Regions from separate parts of the Homo sapiens genome. Here regions 2 and 3 are each linked to region 1. Evidence: promoter capture Hi-C in 16 types of primary human blood cells and fetal thymus (Javierre and others, 2016). All regions are on one chromosome and are shown on one strand. The core of a region is centred on a gene start or on the middle of the fragment in contact, and the rest is flanking DNA. Distances in the headings are between cores, read along the strand shown.

Region 1 (4,739 bases), core at 1,015-3,514:
CAGGAGTTTGAGACCACTCTGGCCAACATAGCAAAACTCAGTCTCTACGAAAAATACAAAAACTAGCTGGGCATGGTGGAATGTGCCTGTAATCCCAGCTATTCAGGTGGCTCACTTAAACCCAGGAGATGGAGGCTGCAGTGAGCCCAGATCGCACCGCTGTCCTCCAGTCTGGGCAACAAAGTGAGGTTATAGCTCTCAAAAGGAAAAAAAGAAGTTTTTTTAACAGGTGGTGCATCTTAGTTTGCTACTAACCCAAATTCAGGGCATAAAGATAGATAGCAGATAAAGGCAGAAACGAGTCCAGCCCCATCCATATGGCCTTAACTCCATGATTGCTAATAGAGTATTTTCAAGGTTATGGGAACCTAACACTTAAGTAAAAAATTAATACATACCATATATCCCACAAATCGGTAGACTAAGACAACTGAGTTTGGATACTACAGGGAAAAACATTTACTCTTAACTAAGTTGTTTACTACTTTTTGCTAAGATTGTCCCAGAGTTTTCCTCGAAATTTAAAAATTTAAGGTAAAACTTTTTCAAGGTCTCAGAGTAATTCTAGAGCTAAAGTGTTATTACACATCAGCAATAGATTCAGATAATACATGCCAACACATCATTGACCTTGAAAGTATTACCCCTAACTACAAAAAGAGAAACCCGTTTTGTACCTCAAACCCTCATCTACTTTGTCTGGCAAGCCCTCTCAGTATAGGTAAAAACTGAGATTCTAATAAGCCCACAGCCTCAGACGTCCAAAGCACACTTAACTGAAGTTCAAAGGCACAGCACATCCTCAGTTCTCTGCATGGAGTTGGATGCCATTTTAAGACATAAATACTGTCTCACTGCTTATGACTGTCACACTTCTTTAAAATAAACTTTCCAACATAAAAAAATTATACATACATAATCATCTTTCTTTGAGCCATAGGATGCGATATAATCTGCATGTTTCTCCAATAACAAAGTGTCCGGTGCATCTGACTTGATAATAACATCCTTCTGTGGAGTGCCCTTTCAAAATAAAGTGGTAATCTCATCAATGTTTACCTCTACAACGTTCTTCTGCCCCACAGCATAGATTCAACATACATCTCAATTTTCACTTGATTTCATCTTGTAATAGGAAAACGTTCCATTTAAAAATTGTAACTAACTAGGGAGGCTGAGGTAGAAGATCGCTTGAGCCAGGGAAATTAAGGCTGCAGTGAACTGAGGTTGTGTCACTGCACTCCATCCTGGGCGACCGGAGACCGACTCAAAAACAAAACCAAAACAACAACAACAACAACAAATTGTATCCAACAAAAAAGAACTTAAATCATTCAGGCTTCGTCTTAGTCACGATTCAGGTAATTTTCAGGTCTCAGAGTAATTCTAGAGCTAAAGTAGTAATAATCAACTTTAGATTCAGAATACATGCCAACTCATCATTGACCCAAAAAATTACCACCAGCATTTCTTGTTGTTCACTTTTCATTCAAAAAGATAAGTAAAAAATAAACACCATAGAATATCAAAGCTTATCATTTCAGGACAACTTACGGTTTACATGTGGCAGAAAGCATATTTTTAAAAAATAAAAAAATCTAACCCTTAACTTGCAAGCGAATTCTTGCTTAATCAAATGCAGGTTTCAAAGCACCTTCTAAGTACCCCAAAAGTTGTTCAAATGTATTAAATAAGCAGTTCCTTTAGCTCCATCTTCTCCACCTTTAATCCGAGTCTCTGTATTTGCAGAAGTCCCCATGTGATGCGGCTCTAGTTCTTTTCGTATCTATATCTTCCTCATTGAGAGTACACTGCAGTCACTATAACAGGTCATGAAGATTACCGGAAGTGATTAAGTACCGAATTTTCTTCTGATCCCATTAAAAATCTTAAAGCGAGACCACATCACTAACGATTTTAAAGAAATCTTTGACACCCCCTCTCCAAGAAAAAAAAAAGCCACCAATCAGCCACAGCTTTTTAGAGGGGTTCAGAAATCGGGCTGCTCAACTCTTAACAGGCCCTCCCTACAGAAGAAGGCCTGGATAAAATTAGAAGCGGCATTGCCCGCGAGGTCTGCAGAAAACGCTGAGTAATATTTCACACTCAAAAAACCTTCCAAGGCCTGTGTCCTAACCATTCTCCAGCACCAGGAAACCAATCCTAAGGTGACCAGTGTGCTTAACCCTACTCCACCCTGTCTGCTACCAACCCATCCGGACAGCAGCGCTAAACTCACACTTACCATGTCTAACAGGGAAAGGAGAGAGCAGGGTCAGTTCCTGGGTAGACTTAGGAGCCGGGCGCCTGCGCAGATGCGCCTCTCAGGCCCCCATCGCGCTCCGATATAGCTGACCACACTTTCGCCTGCAAGGCAGAGCAGTTCCACGGCTGCCGTAGGACCCCACTGATCGCTCATAGGTGTCCTCACTGCCTGCGTCCAAAGTCCTGCGACCATATGCTTGTCCCATAGTCACTCCGATTTGTCTAGAAACAGTTTTAAATAATATTTAAATATCTGAGTTGCTTTTAAGAAATCATTTGTTCTAGCTGGACGCGGTGGCTTACGCCTGTAATCCCAGCACTTTGGGAAGCCGGACAGCAGGATTGCTTGATCCTAGGAGTGTAACCACCCAATATTGTGGTTCACTTTGCCTGCTGCTGACCGATAGCCCATTTATCAAGACAGGGGACTTGCAATGGAGTCTCCCCAAGCAGTATTCAGAGTTTTTAAAGATAATTCGGCGATTAGGGGCTTGGGAAGTAGGGAGTGCTGATGGGTCAGGTTGGAGATGGACTCATAGTGGGTAGACGTGAGTTTTTCTTGCTGTTTTCTGTTCCTGGGTAGGATGGCAGAACTGGTTGAGCCAAATTACCAATCTGGGTGGTTTCAACTGATCCATGGAGAGCAGGGTCTGCAAAATATCTCAAGAACTTATCTTAGGTTTTACAATAGTGATGTTATCCCCAGGAGCAATTTGGGGAGGTTCAGAAACTTGGAGCCAGAGGCTGCATGACCTCTAAACTGTAATTTCTAATCTTGTAGCTAATCTGTTGGTTCTGCAAAGGCAGACTGGTCCCCAGGCAAAAAAGCGGTCTTTTTGGGAAAGGGATATTATCAATTTTGTTTCAGAGTCAAACCATAAACTGAATTCCTCCCTAAATTGGTTCAGCCTAGGCTCAGGAATGAAGAAGGACAGCTTAAAAGTTAGAAGCGGCCGGTGGCTCACGCCTGTAATCCCAGCACTTTGGGAGGCCAAGGCGGGCGGATCACGAGGTCAGGGGATCGAGACCATCCTGGCTAAAACCCCGTCTCTACTACAAATACAAAAAATTAGCCGGGCGTGGGGGTGGGCGCCTGTAGTCCCATCTACTCCTGAGGTTGAGGCAGGAGAATGGCTTAAACCCGGGAGGCGGAGCTTGCAGTGAGCAGAGATCACGCCACTGCACTCCACCCTGGGCGACAGAGCGAGACTAGTCTCAAAAACAAAAGTTAGAAGCAAGATGGAATCCGTTAGGTCTGATTTCTTTCACTGCCATAATTTCCTCAGTTATAATTTTGCAAAGGCGGTTCCAGGAGATCCAGACCAGCCTGGGCAATGTTGCAAGACCCCCGTCTCTACAAATAATAAAAATATGAGCCAGACGTGGTTGCCCAAGCCTGTGGTTTCAGCTACTGGGGAAGCTGAGGTGAGAGAATTACTTGAGCTGTGGGGCAGGGGGTGGAGGCTACAGTGAGCGGTGATAATGCCACTGCACTGCAGGGTGTGAGACAGAACGAGACCATGTCTCAAAAAAATAAATCATTTGTTCTTGAGGCCCTTTGCACTCTGAAAATCTGAAATGGCTGTTAATTAGTAGAGTGCCTGCTTACACGTAGTAAGTGTTCAATGAATATTTTTTAAATGAATATTAATGAAATGTTCACATTTCCTTCCTGTTTGCCTTATCTATCTCAAGGTCCAGCCCTGTACCCGCCCCCTCTCCTCGCCACACACACAGGCCACCCTCCCCACCACCACCACCGCCACCACAAACACTTCTTCGGAGAGTGCTAATAGTAAAAATATTGGAAGTTACTTTTTTTAAAAAAATTATACTGTAAGTTCTAGGGTACATGTGTACAACGTGTAGGTTTGTTACATGGATATACATGTGCCAGGTTGGATTGCTGCACCCATTAACTCATCATTTAAATTAGGTATTTCTCCTAATGCTATCCTTCCCCCCTCCCCCAACACCATGACAGGCCCCTGTGTGTGATGTTCCCTGCCCTGTGTCCAGGTATTCTCATTCTTCAATTCCCACCTATGAGTGAGAATATGCGGTGTTTGGTTTTCTATCCTTGTGATACTTTGCTCAGAATAATGGTTTCCAGCTTCATCCATGACCCCACAAAGGACATGAACTCATCCTTTTTTATGGTTGCATAGTATTCCATGGTGTATATGTGCCACATTTTCTTAATCCACTCTATCGTTGATGACATTTGAGTTGGATCCAAGTCTTTGCTATTGTGAATAGTGCCCAATAAACATACGTGTGCATGTGTGTTTATAATCTTTGGGTATATACCCCGTAATGGGATCACTGGGTCAAATGCTATTTCTAGTTCTAGATCCTTGAGGAATCACAACACTGTCTTCCACAGTGGTTGAACTACTTTACACTCCCACCAACAATGTAAAAGTGTTCCTATTTCTCCACATCTTATCCAGCTTCTGTTGTTTCCTGACTTT
Region 2 (4,739 bases), core at 1,087-3,586, about 19 Mb before region 1:
CCAACCTGACCAACATGGTGAAACCCCGTCTCTACTAAAAATACAAAAATTAGCTGGGTGTGGTGGCGCATACCTGTAGTCCCAGTTACTTGGGAGGCTAAGCCAGGCGAATTGCTTGAATCCCAGAGGTGGAGGTTGCAGTGAGCCGAGACCGTGCCACAGAGCAAGACTGGGGGGGAGGGGCAAAAAAGACCCGACAAGATAACCTCTTTTTTGGCTATGGAGATTGCCCTGTTGGATGTAACCATCCACACATCCCATTCTGGGACCACTAGTGTCTTAAGTATCAGGTAAGACTGTTTCAGGTTGAAGACATTATTAGGAATGGCAGAGTGGGCATATACAAGTAAATGATACTCCTTGTATTATCCTTGAGCTGTTTTTCTTACTACACCAAAGACCCTACCTCTGGACTTCCAACTACGCATTTGTAAGCCCAGAGAATTCTGATTCCATTAAAATTTGAGAGACACTGACTTCTAAGTCCACAACTATGAACTTTCTCCACCCTTACTAGCTAAGTAGACTTAGGCAAATTATTTAACTTTTATGGAATCTACTTCTTTGTCTGTAAAAAGGGAACTAATATCCACTTTAAGGTCTTACTGCGAGAATGTATAGTTAAGAAGATTTGATGGAGCCGGGCGCAGTGGCTCATGCCTGTAATCCCAGCACTTTGGGAGGTAGAGGCGGGCAGATCACCTGAGGTTAGGAGTTCGAGACCAGCCTGGCCAACATGGTGAAACTCTGTCTCTACTAAAAAAAAAAAAAAAAAAAATAGCCAGGCATGGTGGTGCATGCCTGTAGTCCCAGCTACTTGGGAGGCTGAGGCAGGAGAATCGCTTGAACCTGGGAGGTGGGGGTTGCAGTGAGCCAAGATTGTGCCACTGCACTCCAGCCAAGCGACAGAGTGAGACTCTGTCTCAAAAAAAAAAAAAAAGAAAAGAAAAGAAAAGAAAGAAGATTTGATGGAAGACAATTTGGAAAGTGTTGTAAGGTCCACGGACTCTACTCACAAAGTCTCCCAAACTTGCTTGCTGATAGGAATGGACACGCTGGTTACATAAGCTAATCCCAGGTGCCCGATCCCCGGAAATTCTGATTCAGTGTTTCCTAATGGACCCTGGGAGTCTGCACCTTTAATAACACATTCTAGGCTCCAGGTAAGTGTGGTGATCAGGCAAGTTTGAATTTAGCAAAGGAATACAGGATGCAGTACTCCTGTCCAGCAGGACTCAGATTTCTGGTTTCTGATTCTAGATCTGACGCTATTCCACTTGGGCAAGCAGTTGCACCTTTCTGAACCTTTTTACTCATCTGTATACCTGTTCAATATAACCTACAGGTAGGTCTATGGTGGACCGAAGGCAAATTATATTTGGGGTGAAGGGGCTCCTGATCTTAGTATTTTATGTTGTCGTAATGTGGATTAATTAGACATAATTAATTTATTAACAATTAATTAATTAGACATAAGCAAAATTGAGATTGAAGGGGGTGTTGGCAGATCATCATTTTGGCTGAGGACATGAGAAACACACTGGAAATGCTTTGTGATAAAATTAACTGAATATTAATTGTAGGACTGTGCCTTGTCTATCCTGCTACCTAGAGCCACTGAGCTTTGCAATCCTCTTAGGAGTGTGGCTTACCTTTAGGTGGTCACCCTCAACTACTCTGGTCACACTGAGAGCTGTGAAAACCTCGAGAAAAGTTAAAAACATACATGTTGGGAGACAGGGGGTTTGGATGAGGGCCCTAAATTCGATGTTTAAGCCTAGGGTCCTTACTGGCGAACACTTTCAGTAATGTCTGTGTGCAACAGAAACATTTCTCTTGGCATTAAAAAAAAAAAAAGAAAGAAAGAAAGGATGTATTCCCTTAGCTTCAGGTGGCATTCACGAAGTTGACAGAGCCAGAACACCTCCTAACTGGGGAGTTTCGGGACCTTTAGGGCGCAGAGACTGCCTGACCTCGTCGTGGGCGTAAATCAAGCTTCCCCAGCGCTTAACTTTACAATTTTCAGCTTACGCTTGGCTGCAGCTGCGCACAATCCGCGCAGAAGCAGGGGTTCCGCTGACAAACGTGAACGTACAGAACGTAGAAACCTTTTAACGCTAATATGCAGTTTCCCTGTATGGCTGTTGTGCATTATTAATCTAGGTATTGCGTATTTAGTTTAGGAAACACGAATACTACATGATAAATGAGGTAAAATGGATTGTGACTGGGACCTCAGCTTCTCCGTCGCCTCCACTCCTCCCAGCTCAGGAAAGACCAGCCCACCAAGACGTGCGTCCTCCGCGTTTGAGTCGCTTCGGCACCCGTAGTTGTGAACTTTGACAGCGGCTGGTCCCCGGAAGTTGGACGCATGCGCCGTTTCTCTGCATGGTGTGCGTTCTCGTTCTAGCTGCGGCCGCAGGAGCTGTGGCGGTTTTCCTAATCCTGCGAATATGGGTAGTGCTTCGTTCCATGGACGTTACGCCCCGGGAGTCTCTCAGTATCTTGGTAGTGGCTGGGTCCGGTAAGTATCGAGGAGGCGACTGTCGGACTTGGGTTGGTCACTACAAACCCCAGAGTGCACCGCGACGCTCTTCCCTGGTACCCTTAGCACTTCTTGGAGTGTTGCATGCAGAGATTTGTAGTTTCTCTGCCTTGCCGGAACCGGGCAGTCCAGCCAGGGTAGGGGCTGGTTTGCTGACGCGGCCCAGAGGTTTTTTTTATGACAAGTAATTTACACTTGTCTATAATTAAGACTCTCTGTAGCGTATATTTTTCAAACAATTAGTGAACAGAGAACGTAGAAGCCTTTTGATGCAAACATGCAGTTTCCCCGTATGGCTGTTGTGCATTATTAATCTAGGTATTGCGTATTTAGTTTAGGAAACACGAATGCTACATGACAAATGAGGCAAAATGAATTGTCACATTTATAAATATACAAAGTCCAAGAGGATAAAAACAATGATCTACGGGCTGTAGAACAATACACACGCGGTGGCAGAGTGTGAGCAACACACTGACCTGTCAGGTAATACAATCTAAATCCACCAACTCTGTAGGTGCTTACAATTTTAAATACACATATTTGACAGGGACAGACAGACACACACAGACACAATGTAAACATTTGGGTATGGCAGGAGATTGCATCCAGATAGAACATGTATAGTATGAGTAAATGTACTAAGTTTATGTTCAAGTATAACGCATTACTTTATTCACTTAATCTGTTTTGAGCTGTTAGAAAGACCAAACACTAAACTAACCTCTGGAAATAACAAAACTGACTAACATTACTTGCCACGGAGTGCTGACTCCGTGCTAAGTCCTGTGAGAGATGCAAAGATACAGCAGTAAATGAAATAGAGAATACAAAAAAACTAACAGAAAATAAATCAAAATGAGTATTTGCCACAATGAGATAAATGCTATAATCTTGTAATAATTGTGTAAGAAGTACAAATTGCTATGGCAGTCTTCAGGAAGGGCACTACTTTATCAGGTCTTAAAAAACAGACAGCTTCCTGGAAGAAATGATGCTAAACTGAAACTTGAAAGATGACCCAGAATTAGTCAGATGAGGGACAGCCAGGGTTTCGAGGGCTGGGAGGATGTGAAAAGAAGGTGATAACACTTGGAATGACCAGAGTTGAGAGAACACTATCGTGTAGAGTTCAATGTAGGGAGGTAAACTGAGTCCAGATTGTAAAGAGTATTTAAAATCTTGCTTTTTTTCTTTTTTATACAGAGTCTCACGCTGTTGCCCAGGCTGGAGGGCAGTGGCGCAGTCTCAGCTCACTGCAACTCCACCTCCCAAATTCAAGCCATTCTCCTGCCTCAGCCTCCCGAGTAGCTGGGATTACAGGCGCACCACCACACTCAGCTAATTTTTGTATTTTTAGTACAGACAGTGTTTCACCATGTTGACCAAGGCTGGTCTTGAACTTCCGACCTCAAGTGATCCTCCTGCCTCAGCATCCCAAAGTGCTGGGGTTGCAGACGTGAGCCACCCCTGGCCTAAAATCCTGCTTTATAAAGCAATTGCTGCTACTCCACTGTTGATATCATGTAGGGGTTAAGACCACAGGCCTCTAGGTTGTCATAACACCACACATGAATCACATTTCTGCCACTTACTACCTTGGGGATCTCAGGCAATTAGTTAACCTCGCTGAACCTTCTGTTTCTACATGGGTTGAGAGAGGACAGGAGAGATTAAATAGGATCATATTTAAAGTGTTTAGGCCGGGCGTGATGGTTCACACCTGTAATCTCAGCAATTTGGGAGGCCGATACAGGCGGATTGCTTGAGCTTAGGAGTTGGAGACCAGCCTGGGCAACATAGTGAAACCCTGTCTCTACATTAAAATAAATAAATAAATTAGGTGGATGTGGTGGCATGCACCTATAGTCCCAGCTATTTGGGAGGCTGAGGTAGGAGGATCACTTGAGTCTGGGAGGTGGAGGTTGCAGTGAGCTGAGATTGTGCCACTGCACTCCAGCCTGGTTGACAGAGTGAGACCCTGTCTCAAAATGAAATAAAATAAAATGATATAATCAAAAGCTTAAATTAAAAAATAAAGTGTTCAGTAAAGTGCTTGACATATAGTGTCAACCTAAAATAATCAAAGGGCTCAATATCCAGTTAGAAGAGTTTATTCAAGCACAAAGCGTGAGATTGGGTGTCTGGGGAGCAAACCTATACCAAAGAATGTAATCAGTGCTCCCCATGTGGG
Region 3 (4,739 bases), core at 1-2,500, about 11 Mb before region 1:
GTGGTTGTGCAGCAGGCAATGAAATGAGCTTACATTCAAGCTTCCGTGTTTTACTGAAACAACAGTCACAGATGCAGTAGATGTTAAAGGTTGAAAGACGAGTGCAGTAAAAGCATTATGAGGACAAGAAGAAAACGTAAATATTTGTGTTGTTTCATTCTTTGTTGTGGTGGCAGAAACAGCCCCCTCTTTCTAAGGTAACTCCAATATAATGATCTCTCCCAGCTTTGAAATACTCCATGTCTGTTTCATTTTCCAGAAATATGGAAAAATGAATATATAATAAAAAACCCTATTTCTCATTTATTGTCTATTTTAGATCTTTATGTGGAAAAGCACTTACTCTCTTCCCAGAGCACTGTTTTTAAAGTAGGTATATTTGCCATAACCTATGCTCGTCTCTACAAAAGGATCACACCACCGTGTCCACCATTAAAGGGGAAATTCTTTAATGGTGGACACAGTGGTGTCCCTGAATCCTCATCCTCAAGTGTTTCAATCTTCCCAGTCTTGGGAAAACAACAATGTTACTTCTTTCTTTTGCACCCTCTGTAGCTGTAATCCTGTTTCCCCATTCTCCATAAAAGACTTACCTTATTTTCATATATCCTTATTCTTAGCCTTTGACACTTTTTTTTTTGAGACAGAGTTTTGCTGTGTCACCCAGGCTGGAGTGCAATGGTGTGATCTCAGCTCACTGCAACCTCTGCCTCCTGGGTTCAAGGATTCTCCTGCCTCAGCCTTCCAAGTAGCTGGGATTACAAGCATGCATCACCACGCCCGGCTAATTTTTTATATCTTTAGTAGAGACAGAGTTTCACCATGTGGGCCAGGCTGGTCTCGAACTCCTGGCCTCAAGTGATCCGCCTGCCACAGCCTCCCAAAGTGCTGGGATGACAGGTGTGAGCCACCGCACCCAGCTGATTCGCTTTCTTTACAGAGAAAATATAAATCATCACTCTGTTTGGCAGAAGCCTCTTCAACCAAATTTCCTTATTTCCACCTCCTGTTCTCTCCACACTCTTTCCTGCATCATTGCCAAATGTTTCAAAGGAATAGGTGTCTCAGGTGTTCTGAGTAGAGCCACTGCTCCCTTAATCTTGGCTGCACATCAGCATCACCTGGAGAGTTTAAGCAACCACTGATGCCTGGATCCAGTCCCAGAGTGTGGACTGGGCATTGGGATGTTTTAGGAGTTCCTCTAGGTGTTCTTAATGTGTGACCAAGGTTGAGAACTAATTTGTCACCCTCTAGAACTTGCTCCATCAGTCTCTACCCTTTGCCTACAGACTGATTCTACTTCTCTTACCAGATATCAGTCCCTTAAGGGCAGTGTCCGTTTCCTATTTATTTTTATATATTTTATGGTTTACACAGGCAACATAGTGAATTCCCAAATGATTTAGTAAGTGAAAAAAGTAATCAAATCAAGATGTTTACAGTGCTAAGCTCTTTTGTGACACCATCACCCCCAGCCTAAATTTCCAACTATTTATCCATAGATTCAATATTTCCAGTGGCAAGTCTGTTATAGTTTGCTTTTCCTGAAAATTCTTCTTTTCTTGGGTTTCCTACATTGATAAATTGAATCATACACACCAAATCACCTAAGCCAGAAATCTGAGTCCCCTTTGATTATTTCCTCTTATTTCCCACCACCAATTGGTCTATCCTGGCAATTTCTTCTCTGAAACTGTTTCCTATTTTTCATTTTCATCCTCTTTTTAAAAACAAATTTTTTAACTTGAAACAATTTACAAACTAAGAAAACTGTTGCAAGAATAGTACAAAAACTTCTGTGTACCCTTTGCCTAGAAACCCCACTCAAACTTTGCCAATTATTCCAATGTCTTTACAGCAAAAACGTCCCAGCCAAGAAAGATCATGTGCTGCATCCAGTTAGCTTGTTGCTCAATTCTCCTTCAGTCTGGATCAATTATTCAGGCTTTTCTTGACACTATTCCTTCCCCAGAGTTAGCCACTATTTTTAAATTGGTATGATTAATATCTGTTATGTTTTTGTACTTTCACTGAATTTATATGTATCTATGAATGGTACTACTATGTTATATTTTTAAACTGCATAAATGATATCATATAGATAAATCCTTTTGCATTTAGGGGTCTAATACTTCTATTTGTGTATTTGATGACCTTTTTGTTTGTGGATTGATTCCTTTTGCTTTGTACATTGATTCCTTTTAGCTTTTTTTTTTATGGCTCATTTTTAGTGATACAGAAAAAAATGTTTCTTCTGTCAGAGACCCCTAAGGTTATCACTGGCTAGTGAGCAATTTTTACATGAATTTCTTTCTTGGCTTAGAAGTTCTAAGATCATTCAGATATTATAAATTTGAACCCAGATTTGTGGGAGTACAAACTATGATTCAAATTCTCAAGGGAGAGAGATCTTCCTTGTTTTTTTCTCTTTCAGAGCTTGTGCCTTGACAGAAAAGCTTCTTACTATGCCAGAAGAAAAGCTTCTATCTAGTCTACCCTTTCATTGAGGGTACAGAATTTCATGGGTTTTTAACTTATGTGTGTGTGTGAGGTCATGAAGTTGGGGGACAGGGTGTGCTCACAGTTAACTGATTTCTGTTTGCACCAAGGGCCCAAGGTCTTATCACAAGTTACCGTGTATTTTTAAAAATTATAAAGGCCAGGCGCGGTGGCTCATGCCTATAATCCCAGCACTTTGGGAGGCTGAGGTGGGTGGATAACTTGAGGTCAGGAGTTCAAGACCAGCCTGGCCAACATGGTGAAACCCTGTCTCTACTAAAAATACAAAAATTAGCCGGGTGTGGTGGTGGGTGCTTGTAATCCCAGGTACTCGGGAGGCTGAGGCAGGAGAATCACTTAAACCGAGGAGGTTGCAGTGAGCTGAGATCACGCCATTGCATTCCAGCTTGGGCAACAAGAGCGAAACTCCATCTTAAAAAAAAAATTAATGAAAATTGACAAATGATAATTGTATATACTGTATTGTATACAACCTGATTTGTAATATGTATACATCTTGGAATGGCTAAATTGAGTGACTTAACATATGTATTACGTCACATACTTATTTTTATGGTGAGAACACTTAAAGTCTGTTCTTAGTGATTTTGAAGAATACAACATGTTGTTAACTATAGTCACTATGTTGTACAATAGATCTCTTGAACTTATTCCTCCTATGTAACTGAAATTGTATATCCTTTGACCAGCGTCATCCAGCTCCCTCACTCTCTCCCAGCCCTTGCTAACCACCATTCCACTCTTTGCTTCTATTGAGTTCAACTTTTTTAGATTCCATATTTAAGTGAGATCATGCAATATTCATCTTTCTGGGCCTGGCTTATTTCACTTAACATAATGTCTTTAAGGTTCATCTATGTTGTCACAAATGACAGGATTTCCTTCTTTTTAGAGGCTGAATAGTTTTCCATTGTATACATATATCACATTTTTAAAATCCATTTATCACCTCATGGATTTAAACATTCAAGCACCATCCTCATTCAATCCTTTCTCCTCTCCAGACAGGGTCATATTCTGTATTCAAGACCCTGGTGTCCAGTTTCTTTTTTTATTTTTGCCACCTGAATATTTCCCTGTCTTTTTTTTTGTAAGCTCAAGTATGCATTATTATTAATTAATTAATTTATTTTGCTGCATTTTACCCAGCATTTCTAAGTATTTGTAGTAGAAGAGTTTTCATGTTATCTAGTCTGTATTGATTAAGGACTGCTTATGTTCAGCTCAAGTAACAGAAACCTAGCTGTAGTGACTTACCCAAATACTGATTTATTTTCTCACCCTCTAAGAAGTTCAGAGGTAGGCAGTCTTCTGTGTTTTTGTTTTTCTATTCTTATCATGTAGCTTTCATCCTAATGTCTCAAGATGGCTCCTGTAATTCTAGGCATTAAATATGTTTTTAAGGCAGAAAAAGGATGAAAAGTAAAGGCAAAAGTACATGCCAACTGAGTCTACTTCTTACTCCTTAAATCAAGAAAACAGCTTTTTCATAAACCCCACGTAGTAAACTTTGGTTTACATCTCATTAGCTAGAACTGGGTCGTTTAGTTCTCCGTAAATGCATTAGAGACTGATAAATGAAATGTGCCCTGTTGAAAAATAAGTATTTCAATTTTTTATATCTTTAAAAAAATCTATATCAAAAATACATATATATGTATCTATATATCTATATATATCTATATATAGATACATATAAATTCAGTTGAAAGTATACAATCATAATAGAAATTAGTATTTTATTTTTAAATCTTTCTTTATTTCTTAAACAGCACTTACTGTCATCCTGAACAAAAATGGGGTTTCTGTTAGCAAGGCAGAAAGAGAATAGTTATAGGGTAAGCAACTATCAATGTCTGCCATGCTGCTGTAAGGCAAGAATTGAAAGTCTCCCATGCTCACTGAAACTTCCTTTCAGTTTTTAGACTGATAAACAGGGCCACTTACATAATTCGCAGGGACCAATGCAAAACGAAAATATGGAGCCCTTTGTTCAAGAGCAAAAGGAAAGTGCTGTTTAAAGGTATTAAAATAAAACTTTTTCCTTTATTTTGTGATCTCTTTTGACTTGTCATTTTTTTATTTGCTGTTTAATGTCATTCTAAGCAAAGAAAAGATTATAATTTAAATTATTAGAATGATTTTTACCATACATCTTCATGTTGTACAATGACAGTGTTATGTTATGTTATGTTATGTTATGTTATGTTATGTTATGT

The links. The method cuts DNA at HindIII sites, captures the fragments that hold promoters and counts their contacts. A CHiCAGO score of 5 or more calls a contact.
Region 2: the fragment with the promoter of ALG14 here is called in contact with the fragment with the promoter of RABGGTB in region 1 in 1 of 17 cell types (total CD4 T cells); the score reaches 8.6 in total CD4 T cells.
Region 3: a contact is called between a fragment that was not itself captured here and the fragment with the promoter of RABGGTB in region 1, in 1 of 17 cell types (total CD4 T cells). The highest score is 6.5, in total CD4 T cells.

What each region holds. Positions count from the first base shown.
Region 1 is chr1:75,783,781-75,788,519 of GRCh38, reverse strand. It overlaps RABGGTB (Rab geranylgeranyltransferase subunit beta), which reads right to left and starts at 2,264. Exons shown (of 9, transcript NM_004582.4): 1 at 2,246-2,264; 2 at 916-1,023. The coding sequence starts at 2,248. SNORD45C (small nucleolar RNA, C/D box 45C) reads right to left here and starts at 1,448; the gene lies at 1,371-1,448. It overlaps SNORD45A (small nucleolar RNA, C/D box 45A), which reads right to left and starts at 631; the gene lies at 548-631. RefSeq lists a silencer at 2,173-2,232 and enhancers at 2,293-2,522, 3,463-3,682. The HindIII fragment of the contact is 7,492 bases long and covers 1,534-4,739 here.
Region 2 is chr1:95,070,548-95,075,286 of GRCh38, reverse strand. ALG14 (ALG14 UDP-N-acetylglucosaminyltransferase subunit) reads left to right here and starts at 2,336. Exons shown (of 4, transcript NM_144988.4): 1 at 2,336-2,524. The coding sequence starts at 2,389. RefSeq lists enhancers at 2,215-2,574, 2,815-2,894. The HindIII fragment of the contact is 2,572 bases long and covers 1,998-4,569 here.
Region 3 is chr1:86,699,065-86,703,803 of GRCh38, reverse strand. It overlaps CLCA4-AS1 (CLCA4 antisense RNA 1), which reads left to right. Exons shown (of 5, transcript NR_135837.1): 1 at 1-197. Among named protein-coding and RNA genes, the nearest start is that of CLCA4-AS1, 3.1 kb to the left of the region's middle. RefSeq lists an enhancer at 1-24. The HindIII fragment of the contact is 2,416 bases long and covers 43-2,458 here.